Linked DNA regions of Homo sapiens: region 1 is linked to region 2. The links are contacts of gene promoters, found by promoter capture Hi-C in human tissues and cell types (Jung and others, 2019). All regions are on one chromosome and are shown on one strand. Each heading gives the region's core, a stretch centred on a gene start or on the middle of the fragment in contact. The rest is flanking DNA. Distances are from core to core; before and after follow the strand shown.

Evidence for each region. The method cuts DNA at HindIII sites, captures the fragments that hold promoters and counts their contacts. A contact is called where the count stands out against the background at its distance.
Region 1: a fragment that was not itself captured here is called in contact with the fragment with the promoter of VNN1 in region 2 in 1 of the 25 tissues and cell types used here (thymus).

Annotation. Positions count from the first base shown.
Region 1 is chr6:132,287,272-132,293,725 of GRCh38, forward strand. No RefSeq gene overlaps it. Among named protein-coding and RNA genes, the nearest start is that of MOXD1, 110 kb to the right of the region's middle. The HindIII fragment of the contact is 4,827 bases long and covers 2,268-6,454 here.
Region 2 is chr6:132,709,320-132,715,763 of GRCh38, forward strand. VNN1 (vanin 1) reads right to left here and starts at 4,736. Exons shown (of 7, transcript NM_004666.3): 1 at 4,507-4,736; 2 at 2,390-2,520. The coding sequence starts at 4,716. The HindIII fragment of the contact is 14,207 bases long and covers 1-6,444 here.

The DNA.
Region 1 (6,454 bases), core at 3,431-5,930, 420 kb before region 2:
CAAGGAAGAAAGAAAGACGGGTGAGGAATCTGTGGGTGTGGGTCCACAGTGTTTGCTCACACTCTAGGCTGCTGCTCTGTCTGTGAGACCAGACTGCTGGGCCCTACAGGAATGATGTGTTTCTGTAGCTGCCTGGGCATCTGCCCACACAATGGGACTTATGTTCTTTAAAACCAAATAAGTATCTCAATGATATGTCACCTCTTCTATTCTTTGGTAAAGTCACACCTACCACCAAAAGGGAAAAGGAACATCTCTTATCTCTTATCCCATAATCTTGTTGCTTAATCAAGTCCATCTCTAGTTGCAGAAGACTGAAAGAAAATGTTTCTCTTGTGTATGGGGGTAGGGGAGAGGGGCATTTTAAAATTTGAATTCTGTTTTTCCACTTGTTAATCCATGGACTCTCATTTTACACTGGAATAAATATTTTGCTGCTTTTATGGATACCAGGAGAGAATCATTGAATGCAAATTATCTTGAAAATCTTGGATGTGTAGTTTATGCACATATATAGTGCTAGCGCAGCAAAAGGGAGAGGAAGTTGTCTTAAACTCCTTTTAGCACCCATCGCCTTTGCAGGTAGTCTTGTTCATTCTTTCCCTGGAGTATGCCAACCAGTTCATTGCCTCCAGCCTTCCTGTCTTCACTACATTCCCATTGTATTTCTTCTCTCTCAGGAAGAAATAACACTAAGATGTAATGTGTTACCTTTCCCATTACCAAATAATGATGATCTATTTTTGGAATTTCAGGTAGCAGCCTGAAATTAGCACTGGTTTATCATCTATCCTGTAGGCTTCTGAGTTCATGAAGCTAAATCACATGAATGGTTATCAATTTTAACAAAGTAAGCCCTGCCTATAAGACCTAGCCTCAAGCTAGTCTTATAGTTCTGTTTACTGTGTTTTTCGACCAGCAATAAGATGGCCCATGAAAGGGGTTTATATGGAAAAGCTTGATTTATTTAATCTGACATTACATGCTCTATATCACGTTGATACAAAACACTCTAAATTCATATTTTTAAGAGCTATAAAAAGCATATTTATGCTAAGCCCCACTTAGCCTATTGGGCTCTTGGCAATCTACTGTTTAAAAGAAATTTTAAAAAACATCCTTGGAGATTATCTAAAACTACACGATTTCATAGCAATTCAACTAATATTTATAATAAAATCACTACATGCAATTGACTGTGCTGAAAACTTTACAGGGGTTACAAAGAGAAATGTGAAAGCTTTTCAATTAAATCACATTAGATAGTCTAATACACATACATTTTTAAATAACGATTTTAAGATGATTTTTAATTAACATTCTATTCTAGCTTCTTCATTGTACTGGGATCAACTTTAAATCAATCCTTTGTTCATTGTATTGAAGTAAGACAAAGATTTAATGTCAGTTCTTCACATAAGAGTAAGTACCAAAGGTACTATTACCTGGAGACTAAGCATTGTATAACAATTCCAAGTGTTTTTCTGTAGATATGCAAAATTAGCTACAGTACAGAACCAAGATTCTCCTTCTTTAAAGACCCTATGCTCACTGATCCCACCTTTCCCTTTCACTCCCGCAGGCAGAGTGCTCAGAAGAATAATTTATACATTAGGTAGAGTTGAATCAATCCAAATAACATAAAATAATATTCTTATTGGAGATGCAAACATATCTTACTTAAAGAAAGTTCTTTTAAACTATTGGATGTTAATAAATTCTTCTATATTTAGAAGAATTCTTCCACTTAAACAAAATTTTTTTAATTCTTCCCTTTTTTTTCTACAAATTGCATTCTCTCCACTGCTCACAATCAGCTTAAGCACTTCTCAAGTTGTTATTAAAGAGTATATCTTCTTAAAATAACTAATATTTCTAAATATAGAAAAATTTATATCTTTTCTATATTTTCTATAATATAGAAAATATGATAGTTCTAAAAATACCACTAACATTGAGGGCAAATACAATACTTAATTGAACACAACATATATGCCAAAGATTATGAAAAGTAAATATGTATACTATATGTGAAAAGAAATTATGCCCTATGGCCATCAGAACTGATGCTATGTCAGCTAAGTAAAGAGGACTCAGAAATAAGAGACTTTAAAAAAATTTGTAACTACAGTCTCTGTTTTCTTCACTAGATTTCATCATTAGCTTTCTTGTTCACTCGCGTATTTCAAGTATGCGGCAGACTGGTTCAAGGGTGAATGATTGATGACAAATTAAAATTATTTAAAAGCTGCATATGGACTTCCTGCAGAACCCATATGTACAACCACATGTCAATTAAGCAAAGAACAGACTATAGGAAATCTCTGTTAAGCATAAAAAAAAAAGGAAGATTTTAAAAGAAGGAAAGGGAAAAGTTCTGTATCTAATTAGCAATCACCAAATAAGAGAAGAAAGCTGGCAACTTGCAGAGAAGGCTTAGTACACCGCATGGCTCATTTCTCCAAGTGCACTGCACAAAGACAGCTCCTGACTAGGGAATGGAAATTGTCATAGTTTACTCCAAACCCTATGGTTTTGTCATTTGGAGATAACGGAGTATTAAAGAACACGGTTCTTCATATGAGGACTAAATGGTCTATGGAAAGCAATTCCATTCTTGCAATTCCAGTATCCCATCTGAATGACGGTGCTTCTAACTCTAGCAAGATTAGCAAATGACTAGGCAAGTTCATTGCAGAATCCTCATTTGGCCTGGGAAATTCTTTACAGGGAGCCAGTGATGTAAATGCAGAGAGTTCTAAGGGAAAAAAAATCCTTCACTTTTTCTGTCTACAAAGTGCATTCTCACCACTGCTCACAATTGGCTTAGGCACTTCCTCAAGCTGTTATTAAAATAAAGAAGTATATCTTCTTAAAATAACTAATGGGCTAAACAATTAAAAGATTAGCAAAAAATGCTTAAACTGATTAGATTAGAATTAAGGATGGAAATTAAATTTAAAAACAAAAAATTGAAGATAAAAGAACAAGAAGTTAAAGATTTAAATACAGTAATCTCAAAACAGAAGGTGAAGTATAAAATGCAAGCTACAACAAACTAACAATTTGGAAAATTTCAAAAGAGACTCAGAATCATTACAGTAAAAGGTTAGGAGACTTAAGGTTGATCTTAGAGCTTAACCCTCAATAAGAATTATTTTAAAATTATTTAAAGGCTGCATATGGACTTCCTGCAGAACCCATCTGTACAACCACATGTCACTTAAGCAAAGAGCAGACATTAGGAAATCTGTGTTAACCTTAAAAATGGAGGATTTAAAAATCTTTAAGAAGCTTAAGGTAATTTGAATTTAGAATTAGCAAGAAAATAAAGGCAATAGGGAAATAAGTATGTAGGCTGGGAAGGGCCAGGGCAGGTTCTTTGAGAAGTCTAATACCTCCAAGCCAACATTGGCAGGATTTATACCAGATATGCAGTAAGCCATCTAATGGCTTTAGGGGAGAAACACATCCTTTGTTTAATACACAAAATCCCCCTCTTCCCTTTATTTCCCATATTATTCCTTATTTTCAGTTAATAGTAATATAGTTTTATTTGATAGATTTATTTCAAAAAGTCTGTCTTTTAAATATATTCTAAGAAGAGAAGACAACTTATGAAATAGTCAAAGTGAGGTGAAGACACATGAACCAAATGTGGAAGGAAAAGTCTCATGAAGCAAGGAAAAATAGGCCAAAATTGTAAAGCTTTCCTCATAAAAAACTAGAACTCCATTTTTGCAAATCATAAAAAACACGAGAAAGGTAGATTGGTTCATTTTAACTTTATTAGTTTCATGACAGCAGATTATTTCCAGGAGGAAAAAGAGCAAAGAATAATGTCTTTCCTTTTGACAAACATGAGAAATGACAAGTAGCTAGTCATTGATTTTTTTTTCTTTTTGAGAATGATTGCCAAATTCACTCAGACCTAATATTCATTTGATTAAGTGTCATTCACTTTGAAAAACTGATTCAGTTAAAACCAAATTTCAATTGATTATATCCGGAAAATGGTATAGAAAATAAAATAGGAAACCTGCCTCTGTTGCCAGGAATTGTGCATCCTAAACATGGGGTCTTGCAAAGGAAAGAAGAAAACTGATATTGAGTGAGCTCAATGTGTCAGATGCTGTATCTTTATTACCATATTTAATCCACAAGCAACTTCTTAAGATTAGAAATTATTATCACTACTTTACTGATGGGAAAAGAGAAATTTACTAAGTCATTTTGGATATAGTTTATGTCCACATAGTTTAAAGTAAAGCAATTGGAAATTAGGTCTCCCATAATTACCACAGTACAACATGCTGTCTACTTACCTTTTCTGAATATAACTATTCACTTGTAAAAGCAGTTTTAAGCATTAATGAGAATATTGTGAAAACACTTTGCAAATTCCAAAACATTATAAAAATGTATGGCATTATTTTGATTAGTAATATTTAATGGATTAGTAAAAAATAAGAGGGAAACTTGGGTAATTCAGGCTTTCATTCTACATTTGTATATTATTCCCCCCAAATTCCTTTTTTCACATTATATCAATTCCACAACAAATATTAAAGAAGTTGGAAAAGAAATGTCTTTATTAAATAAACCTTAGATTGAGGCCACAGAGTCCTCATGCTATTGTTAATCAAAGGACAATGAAGGGAACTCTATAAAACAACTTTCATTAAAAGTTGCCTTTTTAACGTAAGGTTTTCCTTATGGTAAAGCAATTTAGCAACATCATGATGACCAAAAAAGTCACTGGAAATATTTTGCTCTTTGTGATGGAAAACCTTTAGAAAGGGCAAAAGCTGTGACTGGTCAAAGAGAGTCACTTATAACTCATCTGATGAATTTTGTTTTTTAATTTTTCTGCTTTCATTGTTGGGAAATAAGGCAGGATTTTGAAATTTAGCATTCTCTTAAGGAATAAAATTACTTAGGAAATAAAGGTAGTCTCTATCTATAGGTCTGAAATGTTCCAAAGATATGCAGCTTTGTCAACATTTCTGAAATACCTTATTGATGTCAAATAATTCATTTTAGCATATTCCCTGAGAAAATGGTAAATTGTTTTTCATTTTTTCTGTAAGTTGTACCACTCTAGATTAATAAAAAACAGAGGGCCGGGCACAATGGCTCAAGCCTATAATCCCAGCACTTTGGGAGGCCAAAGAGGATAGATTGCTTGAGCTCAGGAGTTTGAGACAAGCCTGGGCAACATGGTGAGACCCTGTCTTTACCAAAAACAGAAAAAAATAAAAATAGCCAAACATGGTGGTGCGCACCTGTGGTCCCAGCTACTCAGGCGGCTGTGGTGGGAGGATTTCTCTCTCTCTCAAAAAAAAAAAAAAAAAATGAGGGTGTGTTTGTTTATTGGCAAAATAACACGGCAAATAAGGAATAGACCATGAACCCAAGTGAAAGGCTTATGTCTGTTGGACTGTTTTACAGTTGCCCATGAACAGTTTGGAAGTTTCCAAGAACCTGTTAAAGAAACCTGGACATGCTCTGCTCAGAAAGTTGTGTGCCCCAGAGTTTGTTCCTTTGGGAACATTGCTCCACCACAACAGGGGTTTGGTGAAATGAGTTTGAGAAATGTTTCATACTATATAACTCTTCTTGGACTTTCAAATGCACATTATTATATTTAAGACAGAGACGTTATGCAATAAGCCTGTTTTAAGTTGTAACAATGTTCCATGACTCTTCATAGTTTCCATGGATCACAGCTCTGGCCTGGGCAGTAATGGATGCTGCCATGAGCCTGTTCAACTGACCATTTTCTACTCATAAAGTACCAGTCTGACTATGTTGGATTTAGATACAACTGTCAATTAAAATCTTGTAGGGCTAAGATGTTCAATATGATATAAACTATGTTCATAGTCCACATAATCTATGGAGAAAGGATGGTCCATGATGATGATGTAAGCTTTCTGTAAAGCTAAATTTATTCAATTTGAAGAACTGATATTTATTTTGAATGCTTCCAATTTGTAAAATGAAATGTTGGTGATAAGAGGTTTAATGTACTCAGCTATGGGCTTCATCACAATTGTAAGCCCAACGCTGTAGTACAGAGCATGGCTCAACATAGGCTCAATACAATTTGTTAATTTATTAAATAAATAGTAACCATTCTGTTTAGTATCCTATTTTGCCAAACATAAGTTGACAACCCTATGTTGGTTTGATCATTGTTTTTAAAACTCAAAAATCTTGGAATCATTTGAGTAGATGAAAGTCAATTTTACTAAAAACATATATTGCAGCAGAGATGTCTTCCTTTCTGTAGTGTTGTCATTCTCCAGGTACCCAAAGATAGATGACATTCTTAGCCCCTCTTGCATTTCAATGAGGCCATGTGACTTATTTTAACCAACGTGGTGAAAGTGGAAGTGATTTCTGCCCCTTCTAGGTCAGGTCCTTCTCCATTAGCAGGCGGAATGCAAAT
Region 2 (6,444 bases), core at 3,486-5,985:
TCATTGCCCAGAACAATGTTTAGACATAATAGGTACTCAAAAAAAATTTGCAGAGTTAATAAATTAAGGCAGCTGGGCGTGATGACTCATACCTGTAATCCCAGCACTTTGGGAGGCCGAGCAGGTGGATCACTTGAGGCCAGGAGTTCAAGACCAGCCTGGCCAACATGGTGAAACCCATCTCTACTGAAAATACAAAAAACTAGCTGGGTGTTGTGGCTCACACTTGTCATCTTCGGGAGGCTGAGGCACAAGAATTGCTTGGACCTGGGGGATAGAGGTTGCAGTGAGCTGAGATCACGCCACTGCACTCCAGCTTGGGCGACACAGAGTCTCTCTCTCAAAAAAAAAAAAAAGAGAGAGAGAGACAGAGAGAATTAAGGCAAGACATTCAGACATCATTAGTTGATGGAAAACATAAATGGGCAACCGTGTTCCTTGAAATGAAGTGAATGGGACATCCTTGTGGGGATGTTCAGGAGGCCCTTGGAGATGAGGTTCTAGGGAAAGGCCATTCAGAAATAAGTCAATTCAATTCATAGTGGAAGTGATAATAGAGTGCTTGCCTTTTAGAAACTGAAGCACTGACATATGACATGATTAAATAAGAAATAATTATGGTACAATTAAATAAGAATAGAGTAAATGATTATGATAAATAACACTGGAATTTATCAAAATCCACCTTGTCAAAATCAAGGTGTCTCTGTAAGTAGTTTTTGTGGGTTTGTTTGTTTGTTTGTTTTTGAGACAGAGTCTAGCTCTGTTACCCAGGCTGGAGTGCAGTGTCACTCTCTTGGCTCACTGCAACCTCTGCCTCCCAGGTTCAAGCAGTTCTCCCTGCCTCAGCCTTCCAAGTAGCTGGGATTATAGGTGCCCACCACCACGCCCCACTAATTTTTGTATTTTTAGTAGAGATGGGGTTTTGCCAAATTGGCCAGGCTGGTCTCAAACTCCTGACCTCAGGTGATCCTCCTGCCTCGGCCTCCCAAAGTGTTGGAATTACAGGCATGAGTCACCACACCCAGCCAGTTTCTGTGGGATTTTTAATTTTAGTATTATTATTATTATACTTTAAGTTCTGAGATACATGTGCAGAACATGCAGGCTTGTTACATAGGTATACACGTGCCATGGTGGTTTGCTGCACCCACCAACCCATCATCTACATTAGGTATTTCTCCTAATGCCATCCCTCCCTTAGCCCCCGACTCCCCGACAGGCCCCGGTGTGTGATGTTCCCCTCCTTGTGTCCATGTATTCTCGTTGTTCAACTCCCACTTATGAGCGAGAACATGCAGTGTTTTGTTTTCTGTTCCTGTGTTAGTTTGCTGAGAATGATGGTTTCCAGCTTTATCCATGTCCCTGCAAAGGACATGAACTTATCCTTTTTTACAGCTGTGTAGTGTTCTGTGGTATATATGTGCCACATTTTCTTTATCCAGTCTACCATTGATGGGTATTTGGGTTGGTTCCAAGTCTTTGCTATTGTGAACAGTGCTGCAATAAACATATGCATGCATGTGTCTTTATAGTAAAATGATTTATGATCCTTTGGTATATACCCAGTAATGGGATTGGTGGGTCAAATGGTATTTCTGGTTCTAGATCCTTGAGGAATCACCACACTGTCTTCCACAATGGTTGAACTAATTTATACTCCCACCAACAGTGTAAAAGAGTTCCCCTTTCTCCACATCCTCTCCAGCATCTGTTGTTTCCTGACTTTTTAATGATCACCATTCTAACTGGCGTTGTGCGGTTTTGAGAATAGTTCCAAAAGAGGAATTCCTAAAATAATTTTAGCCATGTGTATTCAGAAAGAAGTATGTGAATCGACATGATTTTCTTAGGTGTATAAGATATTGGTTTCCTTACATTAAAATTAATAGTGCTGCTTTCACCACACTTAATATCTCTGTAGCCGAGACCTGACTTAAACCACTTAAAATCCTGCCATATCACCTCTTAGATTACAATCAGCTTACACTTTAAGGACTTTACTACATTAACCTCATCAGCTATCTTAGCAATGAGAAAGGAAAACTATTAATCTTAAACTGATGTGACTCTCTTTTGCCATTTACTCATATAGTTTTCAAATCACAGACCTACACAGGGAAATATTTTTCTGTTCACTGGTGAGGAGTCAGAGACCAGAGATGTTCACACTGAATGTGATGATTTCTAAGCTACTTTCTAGCTCTGACTTCTGTGACTTCATAATTCATATTTGCTCTCCCAGTAAATATACCCATAGTAGATGAAAAATAAGCTATACTGAAACTTAAGAATTGATCATGGATCTATGCAATGATCATCAACAAAGTTTTCCCAGGTAAATCAAGTTGATGTTTACTAGTGAATTTTTCACAAGTTGTTTCTTTACCTGTTACGATTATTACAGGGGATCCAGTTTACTTCAGGGTCTGGGATGTCCTCCAAATATGGGTAGAGAGAGTCCCTGTTGAAGTTCCAGCCATAAATAGCATCTTCTGGAGTCACAATAATATGCGCACCCTGTTAAAAATGCAACTTAATCCAAAGGGGGGCCTGCAAGAGGAGCTGAGGAGCTGAGTGGCTGAGTAACAACTATTTGGGCTTCCCCCACACCCCTTAAATCTTATTTTGTTTTCTATATTTTTATAATTTATTTTCTTTTCCAAAGCATTTTAATTTCCTTTTTTTTCAGTGCACTGTCACTTCTTTTTCTTTTTCTTTTCTTTTCTTTATTTCTAATTTTAGATTCAAAGGGTACAAATGCAGGTTTGTTGCATGGATATGTTACATAATGGTGAGGTTTGGGCTTCTAGTCAAGCATTTTTTTTTCTCTCTTTTTTTTTTTTTTCAGATGGAGTTTCGCTCTGCTGCCCAGGCTGGAGTGCAATGGCTAGATCTCGGCTTACCACAATCTCCACCTCCCGGGTTCAAGCGATTCTCCCGCCTCAGCCTCATAAGTAGCTAGGATCACAGGCATCTGCCACCACGCCTGGCTAATTTTTGTATTTTTAGTAGAGATGGGGTTTCTCCATATTGGTCAGGATGGTCTTGAACTCCCAACCTCAGGTGATCCGCCTGCTTCAGCCTCCCAAAGTGTTGGAATTACAGACATGAGCCACCGCACCTGGCTTAGTCAAGCATTTTAATTTTCTAATCCTGCCATTGTTGTTTCCTATGGCAGTCGTTAACTATAAACCTAGCTTATCCTGGAACCAAGCCTCTCCTTGAACTTTCGCTGATGACTGTGCCTGTGTCAAGACTGATTAATAACTTAAATATTCTGTTTATTTCCTCCTCTGCCCTAGCTTTCCCCTGCAAACATGATTCCTGCTTCTCAGAAAAAGAGGAGCCACAAACTGGTTACTTGAACTGTCCCATGCCTACAAGTACTGCCTGAGCTAACCTGGGCACCTTCCAATTAGAGAGTCACCTTAAAAAGCTCTGTGACCTTCAAGGAAATAGTTGGACTAAGGATGAAAAAGAACATCAGAACTCCTGATAACCTTTTAAATATTAGTATATATAAGAATATAGGGCAGTCACGGTAGCTCATGCCTGTAATCCCAGCACTTTGGGAGCCCAAGGCAGGTGGATCACCTGAGGTCAGGAGTTCAAGTACAGCGTGGGCAACATGGCAAAATCCCATCTCTACAAAAAATACAAAACTTAGCTGGGCACGGTGGCATGCATCTGTGGTCCCAGCTACTCTGGAGACTGTAGTGGGAGAATCACCTGAGCCCGGGAAGTCAAGGCTGCAGTGAGACGTGATCACACCACTATACTCCATCCTGGGTGACAGAGTGAGACCTTAACTCAACAACACAAAAGAATATATATTTATAGATATATGTAATACACATTTATCCATGACTTTTATCACACTTCATGTATTCCTGGTCTACACCTAATCGATCAATAGCTTTTAAAATAATATTTGTGTAAACCACAATTTATACTGTATGATTAACTTCAAACTGAAACCTTCACTAAACTTAAGGACTCACAATGCATTACATATACTTTTATCTTGTAATTAGAATGAAGTGTGAAGTATATAATGCATGCTGGCAAGGAATTGAAAACTTAAATTTGTTTTCAGATTATAAATTTATTCGAAAACCTGCAAAGCCTTAATAGCACATGAGTACATGAAGGCCACTAATACTCTGAAAATAGCACCTAGTCCCTGACCCATTTATCCTCCATCCTCCATCTGTACCAGAAAAGGGGAACAAAGATGTTGAATTTATGGCCAGTTCCTCAAAGGTCTGCTGCTTCTTGATAATGAGCAAATTGTTCTTTTCTTAACTTTGTTCTTACTTTTAGGGAAGTCCTTGCTCTAATTTTGAGAGGAAAGTAGAATTCTAACTGTAAAATAAAGGTTCTTGGCTACTCTGATACATATATCATCTAAAAGTGTAACTGACCCTGACAGTGGCCCTGTCTCCTAGGACCCCCTCCTTTCTCATAGAATCCAGTACACTGGAGAGATGGTAGAGATGGTACCTGATCTGCTGCTGATGTGATCGCTCCTTCCAAAATGTCCAGATTCCGATTCATTAATGCCAAAGCCTCCTCACGAGACACTGGTGTTAGGGTGGCATTGGGCAATATCGCTGCATGCTCATAAACAGCTGCAGTGAAAGTGTCCTGGCAGCTGGCTCTTGAGACATAGAAAAGCAAAATTGCCACGTAAGCTGGCAACTGAGTAGTCATGCTGAAGTCCAATGAGTGCTGAAAAACAGAGCATGTCCTGGTATTTATAGAAAGAAGACACGTGGTGTCCAGAACTTAGTACCTTAAACTACGGAAGTTAATTAAGAAAACGCTATGATTTCATAGCATTGTTACATAACAAAAGACCCTACCTTATTGCAGTAATTTGTGAAGATTAACTCAAGAACTCTATGTACATTAGTTCGCTAGGGCTGCCTAACAAAATACAATAAACTGGGTGGTGTAAAAAATAAAAAATTTATTGCTTTGCAGTTCTGGAGGGTGGGAGTCCCAGATGAAGGTGTCAGCAGAGTTGGTTCCTCCTGAGGGCGGTGAAGGAAAGATGTGTTCCAGGCCTCTCTCCTTGACCCATAGATGGCTGCCTTCTCCCTGTGTCTCTTCATATGCTATTCTCCCCATGTGTGTGCCTGTATCCAAGTTTTCCCTTTTTGTGAGGACACCACTCTAATCTTTAACACAGGGAAAGGGAAAATCCCAGCTCTAGCTTTTTTTGTCATCGTTGTTGTTTGTTTATTGTTGTTGTTGTTTGAGATGGAGTTTCACTCTTGTCACCCAGGCTAGAGTGCAGTGGCGAAATCTCGGCTCACTGCAACCTCCGCCTCTCGGGTTCATGTGATTCTCCTGCCTCAGCCTCCCAAGTAGCTGGGATTACAGGCGCCCGCCACCACGCCAGGCTAATTTTTTGTATTTTTAGTAGAGATAGGGTTTCGCCGTGTTGGGCAGGCTGGTCTCAAATTGCTGACCTCAGGTGATCCACCTGCTTTGTTTTTATGCCAAATAAGGGCAGAAGAAAAAAGCCAACTGAAGGTCATAAACCCAGGGGTACAGGCTCACTGAAAGACTGAGACTCAATCATAGGACCAATTCGATTTAGTGCCCACTGTACTCCAGTATAACTTCATCTTAACTAATTAGATCTGAAATGACCCCTTTTCCAAAAAAGTTACATTCTAAGATACTGACAGTTAGGACTTCAACATATAAATTTTTGGAATTCATATATTTTGGAATGTCAACACAAGACATTCAAATAATTTTAAAACTTTATTATTATTTTCATGTGAATATTTCAGCTCTACACTTTGATTTACTTTATTTTCCTCAAAATGGGGAAGCCAGGACAAAGAGGAATACAAAAGAGTTACTCATTTTCTATTGCTATATAACAAATTATCCCCAAATTCAGCAGCTTCAAAAAGCAAAAATACATCATCTCCCACTTTCTCTGGGTCAGGAATCCAGGGGCAGTTTAGCTGGTGCCTCTGGCCCAAGGTCTCTTTCACAAGGCTGCAGTCAAGCAGCTGCCAGGGCTAGCTATATCAAGGCTTGACTCCAGGAGGATTCACTTCCGAGCTCCAAGCTCCCTCATGTGGCTGACGGCAGGGATCAAGACCTCATTGGTTGTTGCCCAGAGACATGAGTTCCTAGTGATGCAAACCTCACCATAGGGCAGCCCGCATTATGGTATCTGGATTCCCTTAGAGCCAGACAGCAAGTGAACCCACTGGAGATGGAAGCCACGGATGCTTCGTAATGTAATTGGGGAAGCAACACCTCATCGCTTTTGTTGTATTCTATCCAATAAAGCATTAGGAACCATCTTTGAAGCTGCTTATCACAGAGGCAACAGAGGTGTATAAAGAATCAGAGCAAAAAAAAGAAAAAATGAGCTGGGGAGCGAGATCCAGAGAGAGGAGAGGGAAATTA